3 separate regions of the Homo sapiens genome follow, and all the other regions are linked to region 2. The links are contacts of gene promoters, found by promoter capture Hi-C in blood cells and fetal thymus (Javierre and others, 2016). All regions are on one chromosome and are shown on one strand. Each heading gives the region's core, a stretch centred on a gene start or on the middle of the fragment in contact. The rest is flanking DNA. Distances are from core to core; before and after follow the strand shown.

Evidence for each region. The method cuts DNA at HindIII sites, captures the fragments that hold promoters and counts their contacts. A CHiCAGO score of 5 or more calls a contact.
Region 1: a contact is called between a fragment that was not itself captured here and the fragment with the promoter of HOOK1 in region 2, in 7 of 17 cell types (naive CD4 T cells, naive CD8 T cells, non-activated CD4 T cells and 4 more). The highest score is 9.9, in naive CD4 T cells.
Region 3: a fragment that was not itself captured here is called in contact with the fragment with the promoter of HOOK1 in region 2 in 9 of 17 cell types (naive CD4 T cells, non-activated CD4 T cells, total CD4 T cells and 6 more); the score reaches 14.7 in naive CD4 T cells.

The regions. Positions count from the first base shown.
Region 1 is chr1:58,757,606-58,762,212 of GRCh38, forward strand. LOC112268263 (a long non-coding RNA gene) reads left to right here. Exons shown (of 9, transcript XR_007066129.1): 7 at 38-195; 8 at 674-700; 9 at 882-2,592. LOC105378751 (a long non-coding RNA gene) reads left to right here and starts at 3,408. Exons shown (of 4, transcript XR_007066137.1): 1 at 3,408-4,607. The HindIII fragment of the contact is 1,623 bases long and covers 833-2,455 here.
Region 2 is chr1:59,812,382-59,817,219 of GRCh38, forward strand. HOOK1 (hook microtubule tethering protein 1) reads left to right here and starts at 2,568. Exons shown (of 22, transcript NM_015888.6): 1 at 2,568-2,799. The coding sequence starts at 2,737. LOC105378758 (a long non-coding RNA gene) reads right to left here and starts at 2,485. Exons shown (of 5, transcript XR_947426.3): 1 at 2,381-2,485. RefSeq lists a silencer at 2,036-2,635 and an enhancer at 2,872-3,435. The HindIII fragment of the contact is 6,303 bases long and covers 1-4,140 here.
Region 3 is chr1:58,775,903-58,780,644 of GRCh38, forward strand. No RefSeq gene overlaps it. Among named protein-coding and RNA genes, the nearest start is that of JUN, 5.8 kb to the right of the region's middle. The HindIII fragment of the contact is 498 bases long and covers 3,113-3,610 here.

The DNA of each region.
Region 1 (4,607 bases), core at 394-2,893, 1.1 Mb before region 2:
AACTGCTTAACATATGCCATCTTATTTTTTTTCACAGAAAAACACCATAAATAGGATTTCTGATGTCCATTTTATAGATGAAGAAGGAAGGTTTAGCAAGGCCATTCAAGGATACACAGCTAGAGGACGAGATGGAATTGAAGTCCCTTTGTCAGCATCCTTTTCATTCTTGATGCCATTTCATTTCCCCTCCTGGTATGTTTTGTTATGCAGTTAGCTTAGGCCTAATTTTATATAACCAATTATAAACTGTGAAATAGGATTCTGGTATGAATTTCCTATTCTTCTCCCACTAAGCAACTGATGAATCCCTTCGTGGTCAGATGTGACGAATGGGATTGTTTCTGTTCTACTATGGTTTGAATTTCTACCTTGATAATTACACAAAAACACTATCAACAAAGGTGGACGCCAGGTAAACACTGCTCCCTCCTAAATGCTTCTATGGCTGAGATCCATTCTCTTGCTCTTTTTCTCCTTTCTTCAAGAACAGATGTTCATATTCTTTGCCAATTTTTCTACTGAGTTATAAGAACACATTATATATTAAGAAAATTAGTCCTATTTATTTGTCTTATAGGTTAGAAATATTTACCTGTTGGTCAATGGTCTATCATCTGAATATATAGTATTTTTGGGGGCCTCTGCATAATAGTTCTGTATTATTTTTTAGGAAAGCCTTCCCACTCCAAGAGAAAAAGTAAGTTATTTATATATCCACATCTTATGGGTCTTTGACTTTCTATTCTCTTCCACTGAATTGTCTATTTCCCAATTTCAGTTGTTACAATATTTATAGCTTTATAATTTGAGCTAATATCTGCCATTTTAAAGCTTTTTTTCTGGCTTCTGTTGCATTTTTATGTCTTTATTTCTTTCAGCTATTATACAAATGATACAACCTGCTATGGAAAAAAGAGAAATAACAGATAAGTATACAAAGAAAATACAAGAAAAACATGAACAGTAATAATCTTATCCAAATGTTACTGAGATATTTTTGGAGTACTTAATTTCAATCTTTTTCCTATATGCAAACACACACAACTTTTCTCTAACAAAAATCAGATCATACTGTACTAGCAAACACCCTACCTGAAATCTGTATATCCATTGCCTATTGATTATGCCCATTGCTTAACATACTATGTTTTATTTAATCATTATTTAATTGTTGAGTATGCAAGTTATTTCTGAGTTTTCACTCAAGCTGTTTACGCTTATTTCTGTCTGGGTGTGAATGAATCTTTGGCACATTCCTCTAGCAAGTTGATCAACATCTGGTCTAAGATATTCTTCGGTGTTGGGTTTGTGCTGTCCACATCAGCTTAGCAATGTCTGCACAAAGACTCCTTCCCCCTCAAAAGTGCCATTCAGACTTGCTGTGGGTATAAGGGGAACAATCTCATTGAGGAGAAAGTTGTCATTGTGGTTGAGAACATGAACTTTGGAATTGGATAGAGCTGTGTGAATTTGGCCTAAACTCCGAGTCTGCTTCCACATCTGTAAAATGTAGACACAAATAGTTACTCATAAGGTTCTGGTGGGGATTAAATGTGGTTATACCTGTAAAGTCCTTAGCATTATGCCCAGCACATAGTGAAGATGTTCGATAAATGATAACTAAACAAACATTGTGTCCCCTCCCACTACAACCACACTGCTCTCCCTCACCTTACAGACTTTGCTGCTTGACAATCTTGGGGTGGGGCTGCTGAAAACTGAATCTCAATTTAGGAAGCCATGTTGTCCCAGGATTAGGGTTATTGGCCTCACATAAGAATCTCCAAATCTGCAGAATCTCAGGCCCCACCCAAAAACTATTCAATCAGAAACTACATTTTCAAAAGATATCCCAGATGATTTGTATGCATAGTAAAGTTTGAGAAGGTTTTAGTCCAGGTATTCAGGAAGTGATGCTGGTTGTGTATGGAGGACAGGGGCCCAGGAACTGATGAAATCTCTAGTTTGGAATTCTCGATAGCATTTGCATTCTTTTTTTTTTTTTTTATCTCAAATCCATCACTCAGTAGCAATGTGATCTTCACAAAGCTCCCTTTACTTTTACCACCATAGTGTTGTAGGAGAAGCTCTATCTTCCAAGTCAGACAGATCTGGGCTTCAATTCCAGCTTTGTTAACTGGAGGACTTATTATTAGCTGGGAGGACTTGCGACAAATCATACCAACTTTCTGAGCCCAGTTTCCTTCCCTGTAAAATGTAGATAATACACCTTTCTTGAGGTGTTACTAGAGATAACCAATGATAAAGTGTTTGGGAAATCTGGCATATCGTAGGGGTACAATGAGTAAGTGGTTTGACTCCAAAGACCTGAGTTTGGATCTCAGCTCCACAACTCACTTGGCTGATTGCTTTCTTTCCCTGGACTCAAGTTTCATCATCTGTAAAACTGGCATTTCAACCAAATAACTTCTGAAGTCTCTCCCTCCTTTAAAGCTTGATATTACAAGGGCAAATTTTAGTACAAATATCCAAATCCTAACGGTAACTCACAATTACAAAAGAGCTGAGTCTGTCATTCACCTGTCAAATTATCTAAACTGCGTCTCAGTCAGGAGATGTGAAAAGAAGGATGGATTTTCTATGAATGTTTTCTTTTTTTTTTTTGAGACGGAGTCTCGCTCTGTCGCCCAGGCTGGAGTGCAGTGGCGGGATCTCGGCTCACTGCAAGCTCCGCCTCCCGGGTTCACGCCATTCTCCTGCCTCAGCCTCCCAAGTAGCTGGGACTGCAGGCGCCCGCCACTACGCCCGGCTAATTTTTTGTATTTTTAGTAGAGACGGGGTTTCACCGTTTTAGCTGGGATGGTCTCGATCTCCTGACCTCGTGATCCGCCCGCCTCGGCCTCCCAAAGTGCTGGGATTACAGGCGTGAGCCACCGCGCCCGGCCGAATGTTTTCAATTTGATAGAAACAAGTGACTCAAGGAAAGTGTTGACAGTTATTAAATTGAGTTTCCATATAATAAGGGCATATAATAGGTGACAAATGACAGGTCCTGAGAGCTGCATTTTGAATATTTGGAGGATTTGGGGCACATATCTGGTATTGGAACTTCTCTGAATTGGATTAGAACGCCGCGTGGCTCACGCCTGTAATCCCAGCACTTTGGGAGGCTGAGGTGGGTGGATCACGAGGTCAGGAGATCGAGACCATCCTGGCTAACACAGTGAAACCCCGTCTTTACTAAAAATACACACTCAAAAAAAATTAGCCGGGCGTGGTTGCAGGTGCCTGTAGTCCCAGCTACTAGGGAGGCTGAGGCAGGAGAATGGCGTGAACCTCGGCGGCGGAGCTTGCAGTGAGCAGAGATCGCGCCACTGCACTCCAGCCTGGGCGACAGAGCGAGACTCCGTCTCCAAAAAAAAGAAAGGGGAAAAAAAAAAAAAAGAAAGCTGTCAAGACCATCCAGACCTGAAAATACCTGATAGGGGGATGGGAAACAAAAACATGACTTCTCACAGTAGATCCTTAATTGGTGATCGAAAATTGGTTTAAAAGTGTCCTAACTAATCTTTTTTGAAGGGAAAGTCAGAAATACATTCAAACTCACAGTGTGTACCTCTGAGAGACAGTGGCTCATTCAAGTATCACTTATCCATTTGGGTCTTCATTCATTCACTCATTCCCCAAATCCTAACTGAGTACGTACTATAAAACAGACACTTGCCAGGTATTGGGGGATGGAGGGTCTGAGTAGGGGTAAAGATTAATTAGGTAATAAAATCCAGATTTCTTTTAAAAACAATCAGAAAATCTCACAAGGCTGGACCCACATTCTCACACAATAATGATTGCTGGCGCTGAGTCACTGGGGACCTACTAGGTGAAGCAGGAATCCCTGAGTGCCTACAGCTCCCATCCCCAAAGCTACATCATTACAGCATTCCTTCATGTTACCTACCTGTCATTACCTATGGACGTCTGAATTCATGAATCTGAGCTCACGAATTCTCATTGAGAGAACCTTTCCAATGAAATACCCATCGGATGCCCTTTGCTGAGAGCCCGGAGTAGAACCAGTGCTAAATTTCTAAGAGAGAGACAAATACCTAAATAACTCTATTGCAAAATAAAAGGTATTATCAGAAAGGGAAGGATGAAATGCTTTGAACATTTAGGGGACAGGGAAATTGTTTCTGGAGACTGGTACACATCAGAAATGGCTTCCTGGCAGATGTAGCACCGAATCTGGGACTTGAATGATTACATTTTTTCCATCAATTCAACAAATATTTGCTAGAAGCCAGCTAGCCAGAATGCTTTATAGAAGATGCACTCAGAATTGGCTAGTTATGAGGGAGCTGTTTGTCAACTGCTAATTTTCTGTGGTTTGCTCTTCTTCCCTTTCCTTTTACATTCACAAATTGGGAAAGTTAAACTTGTAGATCACTTTGGGGATTGTCAAAGGGTGGCTTCTGGTAGATACTGGTTTCTCCAAGCCAGGCAAACCTGCATTCACTCAGCATATATTTTCAAGTCTGGACTATGTACCGTCCACTATGACAGGAGTCAGAAATACAGTGATGAGTGCTGGCCCTGTCCCATGTAATTTACAGCCTTTTTGGAGAGAGAGGCAGTTTCAGTGA
Region 2 (4,838 bases), core at 1,318-3,817:
TTTGTACCCATTTATAATCCCACAGCTAGGGTTTAAGAGTTAGTTTCACTCAACTCCCCAAACATGGATGCCAACTTCTAAAGAACTGATGCCAATTTAATAGTTGGAAATGATAACTTATGTTGTATTTGGCATTTCTTCTAAAGTCTTTTTTTCTGATTATAAAGTAATATAAGCTAATTGTAGAAAGCCTAGAAAATATGGAAGATTAGAAAAATAGTCATTTTTCATTTGTATATAAATATAACAACAGTTTTATGATTATTCCTTTGTCTTCTTCCTGTGTATATATTAAAATACATACCTAATATTTATAATATTGAGGTCATATGGCTGATACTTTCATCTAAATTTTATTTAATAGTATACATTGTGACAACTTTCCTGAGTTATCAAATATTCTCCAGAGCACTGAATCTGCTGTAAAATATTTAGCCTTCCTTGCTTATTGGGCATTGTATCAATCGATTATACAATTGATCAATACATAGCATTGCCATACATATCATTGTTCAAAGCCTCCAAATGCACTTCTGATGATTTCAACAGAATTTATGACTGACGCAGAATAAATTGGAATCATGGGTTTAAATGATATGGATATTTTAAAGTTTCTTGATAAAAATTGTTAAATTTTTCCTTCCCTGATAATTTACTCTCTATAAAGTCCAGAAGCATAACTTAATTGCCCCCCCCACCAAGTTACTCTCACGAATTATTTTATTTGAGAAATTTGGTCACTTGTGGCTCTCAGTGATAAATATGTTGAGAAGTTTCCCATATGTATAGATGATAATAGTAACTCATATTTACAAAGTTTATAATTTACATTTACCATGTATGTTTACATTTTAATTACAATGATCTTAGGAATGTGGAGGTTGGGGGCTATAGGAGAGCAGCCAGTGGGGAATAAAGTCAAGATTCAGACCAGGTCTTCAATTCCTAAATCTTGTAGTTTTAATTAAATCACATTACCAATGTACCTAGTTCCAGCATATAAAGTGACTCCAGAGGCGTTAAGAAAGTTCTGGAATAATGTTAAGGGAGTCAATAGCAAACGTACATACTGTATTTTTAGAATGAGACTGATTTACACTTGGGGGCTTTTAATTGCAGTCGTCCATCAGTTTTAAATTTTCAGTGTCTAAATATAAAAACGCAGCAATATAAAAAAAAGCCAGCTGTTTTCTTACTCAGAGCATGAATTGATGAGTTTATGAATGAGTGAAGTGACAGCAAGACTAAGAATAGTCTAGCCCTTTTCAATCACCTAAGCCATCTATCAATACCTTGGAGAGCTTCCAATTTCAGGTCACCTCCCCCGACCCCCCTCCACCCCACAACATTCTCGGAAAAAGCAAATTTTCAACTGACAAAGGAAAATGGATACATTAATATCTTCCATGTTTTTCAAAACATTTCGTTTATTTTGCTACTTGAAAACGGTCTTCCCTTTTGCCCCATGTAAAATAAAATTGCTCATGATCTATGGTCCCGTGAGAGCTTATTTAAGGAGCACTGACGGATTCTATTTTCCTTATTAATGTGGCATATTTGCCACGTGTGCAAATGAAAACATCCCTTTCCAATGAGTGCCTAGGAGGAAATCAGCTCTTCCTTCCTCGAAGAGTTTTAATTCATGGGTATGATCTATTTCTTTCTTTCTTTATTTTGTTTTATATATTTTTTAGAGACAGAGTCTCGGTTTTTTGTCCAGGCTGGGGTGCAGTGGCATGATCTCGGCTCACTGCAACCTGTGCCTCCCGGGTTCAAGCGATTCTTCTGCCTCAGCCTCCTGAGTAGCTGGGATTACAGTCATGTGCCACCACCCCCGGCTAATCTTTGTATTTTTAGTAGAGAATGGGTTTCGCCATCTTGGCCTGGCGGGTCTCGAACTCCTGACCTCAGGTGATCCACCCGCCTCAGCCTCCCAAAGTGCTAGGATTACAGGCGTGAGCCACCTCGCCCAGCCGGTAGGATCTATTTCTGAAGACAATGTGGAAGCAGAGTGTGGGCCCTCCACAGGTGTAGCGAGGCGGCGTGCTACCGCGAAGAAGGAGGGAAGACGCCTGAGCCCAGCCGGTGCCCTGCTGCCCCTCTGCCTCTTCGGCCACTGGGGCTGAGCTTCAGCCTTACCAATCCCCGCCGCGCACGCGCGCTCGCTTCCCGCGCGCAACCTCCCACCCCCGCCCTCACTGCACCTGCCAGGTCATAAACCTCTTCCCACCCACTCTCACTCTCTACCCAAGGCTCAGGCTTGTCTCACGTTGATTGGCCAGAGCCCACGAGGGCACGTCCAATCAGCAATCCCCCCTGCGCAACCTATCCCGGTTCTTCCCGCCCCCGCCCCGCCCCGCCCGCCCCCCCGGGTACCTACCGTCTCTGTGACTGGTGCGCGGCCAGGTCACTCAGGGCGGCGGGGCGAGGTGTGCGGGAGTGGGCAGGACGGGTGGGAGGAGGGGAGGGGTGGGAGAAGGCGGGGCTCAGGTGCCTGGCAGCGCGGCCGGGGCCCAGGAAGGGGAGGGGGCGAACGCTGGAGCGAGGCGGGGGCGGGTGAGGAGGGGGTGACGCCGGACGCGTCGACAGCGCGAGGGTTCGCGCGTGAGCTGCGCGGGTCGGGCCTGGTACCGAGCTTTCCTGGGGGCTAGCAGGTCGTGGACGCCGGCTCCTGGAGGAGAGCCGGTAGGAGGGAGTGTGAAGGTGTCCGCGGCGTCGTCGACGGCGGCGCCGGCCATGGAGGAGACGCAGCCGCCGCCGCAGCCTAAGCTGCCCCTGTGCGACAGCCTCATGATCTGGGTGAGTGCGAGGAGGCGAGAGGGCGAGGGGGCCAGGGGGCCGAGGCGAGGAGCCTGGGGCGCCCGGTTCTCCCAGGTGAGCTGGGGCTACCTGCACAGGGTCCCGGCGCACCCTGCCCTTCTCACCTCGTGCCCTTGACCGAGAGAATGCCACCTGCGGGTCGACGGGCAGGTGTGTGGGCGCGGGTTGGTGTCCGGGGGTGGGGGTAAAGGAAGCTCTGGGAGCGTAACAGTGGAGGCTCTGGTCTCAACCAGAGGATTCGACCTGCCTGGTGCCCTAACAGCTGGGATATGAACCAAGCACCCATCCTCTTTTCTCCCCGCTGCCCCATTTTCTCCCCCTGAACAGCGCCCGAGCCCTCCACTTTCTGGATCGCCGACTCTCTTGCCTTGGTCCGCTTGGGCGTGAAGACCCTTTCCGAAACCTAACCCTGCATCCTCAAACTACCTTGCTCTACCTGGACACAGGTGGCCAGGAGGTGGCTGGCTGTTTTAGTTCCCGGACCAATGCTCCTTCAGGACTCTAGAACATCCGATTTTGTAGAAGCCGCTTCAAAGAGATGTTTGTATTTCCCGTATGGAGAAAAAGATGTGTTGGGAGTCGGGGGTCGTTTTCCCTTTTTCTCGCTGGCCCTCTCCTCCTCTAAATGGACAGCATTTTCTTTAAAGAAAATGAGTTGACATTTTTCTTTAGGATTTATCTGTGTTTAGGATTTTTGTTAATTTGTGTTGGGTCTGGACAGGCATATCTGTCCCCAGATTGTTCAATATTCCAGTCAGCAAAATGACATCCCACCTCTTAGAGTTACTTAGATATCAGTGCTGGCATTCAGGTGTGGTTCTTAACCCATATTGAGTAAAGATGGTGTTTGATGAGCCACAAGGTGCTGTTGATGATGCTCATCCCAAACCAGTTGTTTAGTTGCGTCTAGGGGAGTGTGTGCAGATGGAATGTAAACAGACGGGATCAGGAGGCTGTAATCGGTTGAGATTCCCTAGTGATCTAATGCATCTAATTCCAAAGAATGAGAAATCTAGGTTTATGGAAATGTGTGAAGCCTATTGGAAATAGCCATAATTTAAAGCATTTACACTTTGTAAGTAAATAACTTTTGCTTTTAGTGGAATGCAAATATTTAGGGTTTGTGAGTTAAAAGCAATTAGCTAACTGTTCAGCTGAATTTTCATTTGAAATAGGTATTGGGGTGGAAGTGCTGTATTTAAGACTGTCGTAGAAACAAGGCAACATTACTTTTAATGATTTGTTTTGTTAAAACAGACTAATTAAAGGGTGTATCCGAATCTGCTACATTATTGTAAACCTCAATTGACTGAAGTGTTAAGCTTAGTCTTTATGATGTCATTGATTTACATGTGAGGTGGTGGAGAAGCACAGGATTTTCTTTTGTGTTGTAATATTTTAAAATATTATGTGACTGTATCCACTCTTTTAACCAGAATTTATTGACTTCCAATGTTGAGCTAGGCACTGGGGAGGACTGGAGTGGTAGCCAGAGCTGTGTGTAATTACAGTGGAAGGTAAAATTCCGTAAAAGCTGCAAATATGTTGTAAACCAAATGATAAGGAATCACAGATAACAGAGTAAAATTGGTCGTTTTCTTCAGTCCTCTCTTGGGCTGCTGAGCACTGTGGAGAAAATTGAATGACCGTGCAAACTGTTGCCTCTACTAATGCTGTTACTGTCAAACGCACCTTTTCTCCTAACATTGCCCATACTTAAGAATAACCAGACAGTTTCTCTCACATTCCTCTTAGCAAACCTTTATCAGTATTCTACCTGAGCCCCCAACTCTTATTCCTCTGGGGCAAATGACCACCTCCTTATCCTTGGCTCTGGCTTTAGACTCCATCCCTTCCACCTCTTTTAAAACGTTATTGTATCATTTGTTCCCTTTCTGTATTTACAACTACTTTCTCTCCATTGGCTCCTTTCTCTGTATGTATAAACTTGCTGAAGTATTCCCCTTTTTTAACAGAGAACAAAGAGCCACTATTCCGTGTTAAAGTCATACTGTATT
Region 3 (4,742 bases), core at 2,112-4,611, 1.0 Mb before region 2:
GTCCTCAGGGTCCTTGATGTAGACGTAGGGGTGTGCACTGAGTAAGAGACCCAAGGTCACCAGGATTTCTGTTTCTTGGAACAATATAGGTGAAAAATATGGTTCTTGATGCCTGGGGACCAAATTGTGCCCCACCAGTTACTGGAGCCATGGCCTCAACAAAAGCACTTAAAACTCACTGGGAGCCTCAGCTTCTGCTCCCATGAAACATGACTACTATCAATGGGCATCCCGAGAACAGTGGTGAAAATAACATGAGACAGAAGAGGCAAAAGAGCTTTGGAAACTACAAGAGTATGGATGGGTGAGTACAAATGTCATTGCTCATCACTCTTTCTTTTGCTTAGTATGCTCCAGGGATTCAGGCCTTCTCATAACTACTAGGGTGCACCAGAGTCTTTCCCAGGCTCTCCTTCATGCTGATTCTTCACCTGGGATGTCTCACTCCTATTCATCTGCTCTTCACATGGGGAACTCTTAGTCTAAGATTTCTCAGCTCAAGTAGTTCTCCAGAAATACTTTGTTGCCAACCCAATTTAGATCTTCTCTTTATTAGTGCCCAGTTCTTTTTCTTCATTGCACTTTAATCATATATTTATTTGTGTGTTTCTTTTCCTTCCTCCCTCCCTCCCTCCCTCTCTTTCTCTCTCTCTTTCTTTCTTTCTTCACGGAATCTCTCTCTGTCGCCCAGGCTGGAGTGCAGTGGCGCCATCTCAGCTCACTGCAACTTCCGCCTCCTGGGTTCAAGTGATTCTCCTGCCTCAGCCTCCTGGGTAGCTGGGATTACAGGCACCCACCACCATGCCCAGCGAATTTTTGTATTTTCAGCAGAGAGACAGGGTTTCACCATGTTGGCCAGGCTGGTCTCGAACTACTGACCTGAAGTAATATGCCTGCCTTAGCCTCCCAAAGTGCTGGGATTACAGGTGTGAGCCACCATGCCTGGCCTTGTGTGTTTATTTACTGTTCCTTTTAGCTAGATGAGAAACTCCATGAGGGAAGGCATCCTGTTGCTTTCACTCTTCTGTGTTCCTGGTTTCTGGCACAAAATAGGATTTCAATATTACTTGTGGTAGAAAATGAGTGCTATGGGAATGTAAAATGTTATTATCAGTTCCCTCAACATAATTTGTTTATACATCAAAGAGTTTATAAAGTTTGGGTCAACTAGCCTCATTGAGCTTAATCAATTCTAGGTGACCAGATAAAGTCAGGTTTGGTCTTGCAGCAGTGAAGACCAGTTCTGTGCTATAACCCTGGAAGGCCTGGCCTACACGGGTGCAGGTCTGTTTCATTCACATCTGTTTATTTGAGCTTCCTGACTCTGAACAGGTGGGCTCTAGACCATTTTGTGAGAAGATTTTCTTTCAGGTATCAAATGGACCCAATGGAGAGGAAAATGTAAGCATGGAGCAGGTAGCATAAGAGGAAAGCAAACCTCCTGGTATCCCTCTTTAGGCCTAACTCATCAGAAAGTTACATAAGAAGAAAGGTGGCATGATGTAGCCTGGACCAAGCCATCTTCTTCCCATTTGTCCCCCAACTGTAAGACTACTTTAAATACCACAGGCATTCTAAATAAAACTGAAAACCTATCTTTGGTATTTCACCCCTTACCTAGCTTCTTCTTCACCAATCCATCCTCCAAACTGTTGCCAGCATGAATCATTCTTAAGCTGAGGGTATTATGTCCCCACTCTGTTTCAAATTCACCTGCTTTCTCCGTCACCTATAGGATAACATGGAATGGATATTAAATCTCAACCCAAGCCTTCAACTTCCCTGCCTCTTCTCCCTTCAGTTTTCTTCTCGTATCTTTCTTCCGAGCTTCTCTAAGCAGCCTTCAGGTCCCTAAACACAAGACGTTTTCTCATACTTCTCTGCCTTTGCATGCACGTTTCTTTCCAATCTTTTCTGCCTGGTAAGGCCCACTGGATCAGCTCAAATGTCACCTCTCCCATAAAGCATTTTCTAATAATGTCTCCTTCTGCTCCCATCTGGCACCTTTTTCTTATAGCATATATCTTGTGCCTTTAGAATAGTTTCTATTTCATCTCCACATTCCACTCTACCAGAATGTGAGTTCCTTGAGAATAGGGATTATATTTTGCTCATCATTGAATCCCCACAGACAAGCAGAGGGCCTCAAAGAGACTCAGGACCAGAGGAATGCCCTGCTTTATGATGTTCAAAAGTCCAAAACCAAACAACTCAAGTTAGGTTCCAGAGTTAGGAAAGAATAGTTTTACATTCTGGGGCCATCCCAGCTGCTAACCCTCTTCCCCTCTTCTATGAGATCCTACTTGACCACCATAGAGGTGGGTGGAGGAGGCAAGGGACAATCAAACCAGAAGTCATGGCCTCTTTCCTTGGTTCATGAATGCACTTCTCTAGTAATGAAATGACATGGAGGAATAGATGGATTAGCATGATTCCTGTCTCAGCAAGCAAACATTGGGTACTAACTTCTGGACCCCTGAAATATGTCTAATTTTACTAACAGAAAGTCCCCTCTCTCATTACCAATAAAGCTGGTTGTTTTAAATGAAGACACATCTGGAACTGTTTTTGTGCCTGCCCAAGGACACACATAGGCTCCATTTCCACCTTCAAAACTAATGTTTCAGGCAGACCCATTTAATGTAAGAAGATGCTCACCTGCATTAGTGGAGGCAGGAAGGGACACTGTGTGTGGCTGGATGTATGAATGTGCTAACAGCTTAATTCTTTTAAGAACACTCACTAAGTACTGGGCTTTAGAACTTGAGGGTTGGCCAGGTTGACTTTGAGGGTTGATCCATCACGAGTTATGCACCTGGAAATGAATGAAGTATATTTACTAGAAGAAACTAAGACTTGGAATTATGTTGGAGGAGGGTTTGAGCTCACTTGTTCGTTCAGTCATCAAACATTTATTTTATGAACATCTACTATATGCCAGGCGCTACATTAAAAGTTTGGGAGTCCATTGATGAAGAAGATAGGGTTCTGACCAGGAGACACAGAGGTTCATAATACATTTTTGTATGTGCTATCATAGGATTTTTGATAAAATGTTATCATGCTCATTAGGGAATTATTCATTCCTTTTGAAGATGGAGTTACTAAGGGAAGCTTTACAGAGAAGGTGTCACTTACGCCAAGACTTGAAGAATGGGTAGGATTTATCAGTTGAACTAGAAGGAAAGGTATTCCAGGCAAATACATGCAAGCAGAAACATGAAGGGGTGAAAGAGCATGGGATTTAGATCCATACAATGATATGTTTCTGATAGTGGGCATGTAGCTGGTCAGTTCATGGTTTATTAACCCTTTTTTTTGAGTCATGGAACTCTGGGAGGGTCGAATAAAAGCAAAAATTTCTCTCCTCAGAAGAGTGTGTACAGACACACAAACACAACTTTCTGGGCATTTTCACTGAGTTCATGAACCCTCTGTCTTGATAGACAGAGAGGGTTAAATGTCCTTGATTGAATTATTTTATATATGTAACATATATATATGTGTAAAAAAAATTAAGAGGATTAATGACGATGTGTCACCAGCTTCATCTTCTCCAACTATTAGTGTTACCTTAATTCAAAGATTAACTCATTGAAGGCCCATAATAAGCTTAACCATTAAGTGTTTATAAGCAGTTAATCTTTTGTCTCCAAAATTTACCAGAGATCATGGGTTAATTTCCTCTACCACAATTACTTTTTTCTACCCCTTTTGGTTAGAATGGTTAGAATTTCAAGAATATACATTTAGAATGTTAATTGAAACAATCAAGCATGGGGATAGGCCTGAGTTTCAGACTTTTTTTTTTTTTAACACTGAAATCTAAAGCAAACTGGGGAGTGGTGTGGCTTTTCTGTGCTGTACTGTTGTCTGGGCTTAGTCTACCTTTGCAGGTAATTAATTCCCCAGCCTGCTTATTTTTTCTAGTTGGCTCTTGTTTAGCTTCCACAGAGCCCCACCCCAAAATGCTTTATTGTCCCTCTGCTATTTCTACATATGGTCAAAATCATCTCACCTTCCGGGTTGCTGACATCGGCAAATTCAGTTTGGCAAACTGGGCTCTGCTCCCAGTAACCCTTTGTTCAAGAAGTGTTATTACAAAGGATCCGAAGCTAACAAGCCTGTCCAATCTCTTCCACTCCTAGATATACTCCTAAGGAGAAACTCTTTGTGTATTTGGATTTACAGCCACAGGCAGGATATTAGCACTCCCAGACCTACTGGGTACTAGAACACTGCTAATGAGCAAACAGCCCTGACTCAATTAGTGGTTTGTGAAATATTCCTGGATATCAAATTGCTTTTGCTGCCTGATAATCACACTGGCTCTTGGTATGAAAAGCAACCAAGCAAAAAATTGTTCCCTTGTTAAGCACTGCCTTGTTGATCTCCTAAGTTATATCTGTAGGTAGAATTCAAGTTTCCCATTTCCCCAGAGCTGAGGTTTGATTTACGCATGTAATCATTGAGTTAGTACTAGTTCATGTTTTCTCTTGTGAATCTTTTCCATAGTATTAGATTACTATCTTTTGAGACTTATTCTATATTTAAACAAGGTTGATTATTTTAGAAACAAATTAAGAAATAAGCTACAGACAGACCCAAAATGCTAAACTGTTAGTTTCCATAGGCATAGGGGTTTATTTGGGGGTGAGGTAGTAGAGAGAGAGATAGAGATGGAGAAAGAGGGAAAGAATTAATGAAATTGGGAGACTGTTTCATTCAGATCACAACTTCTA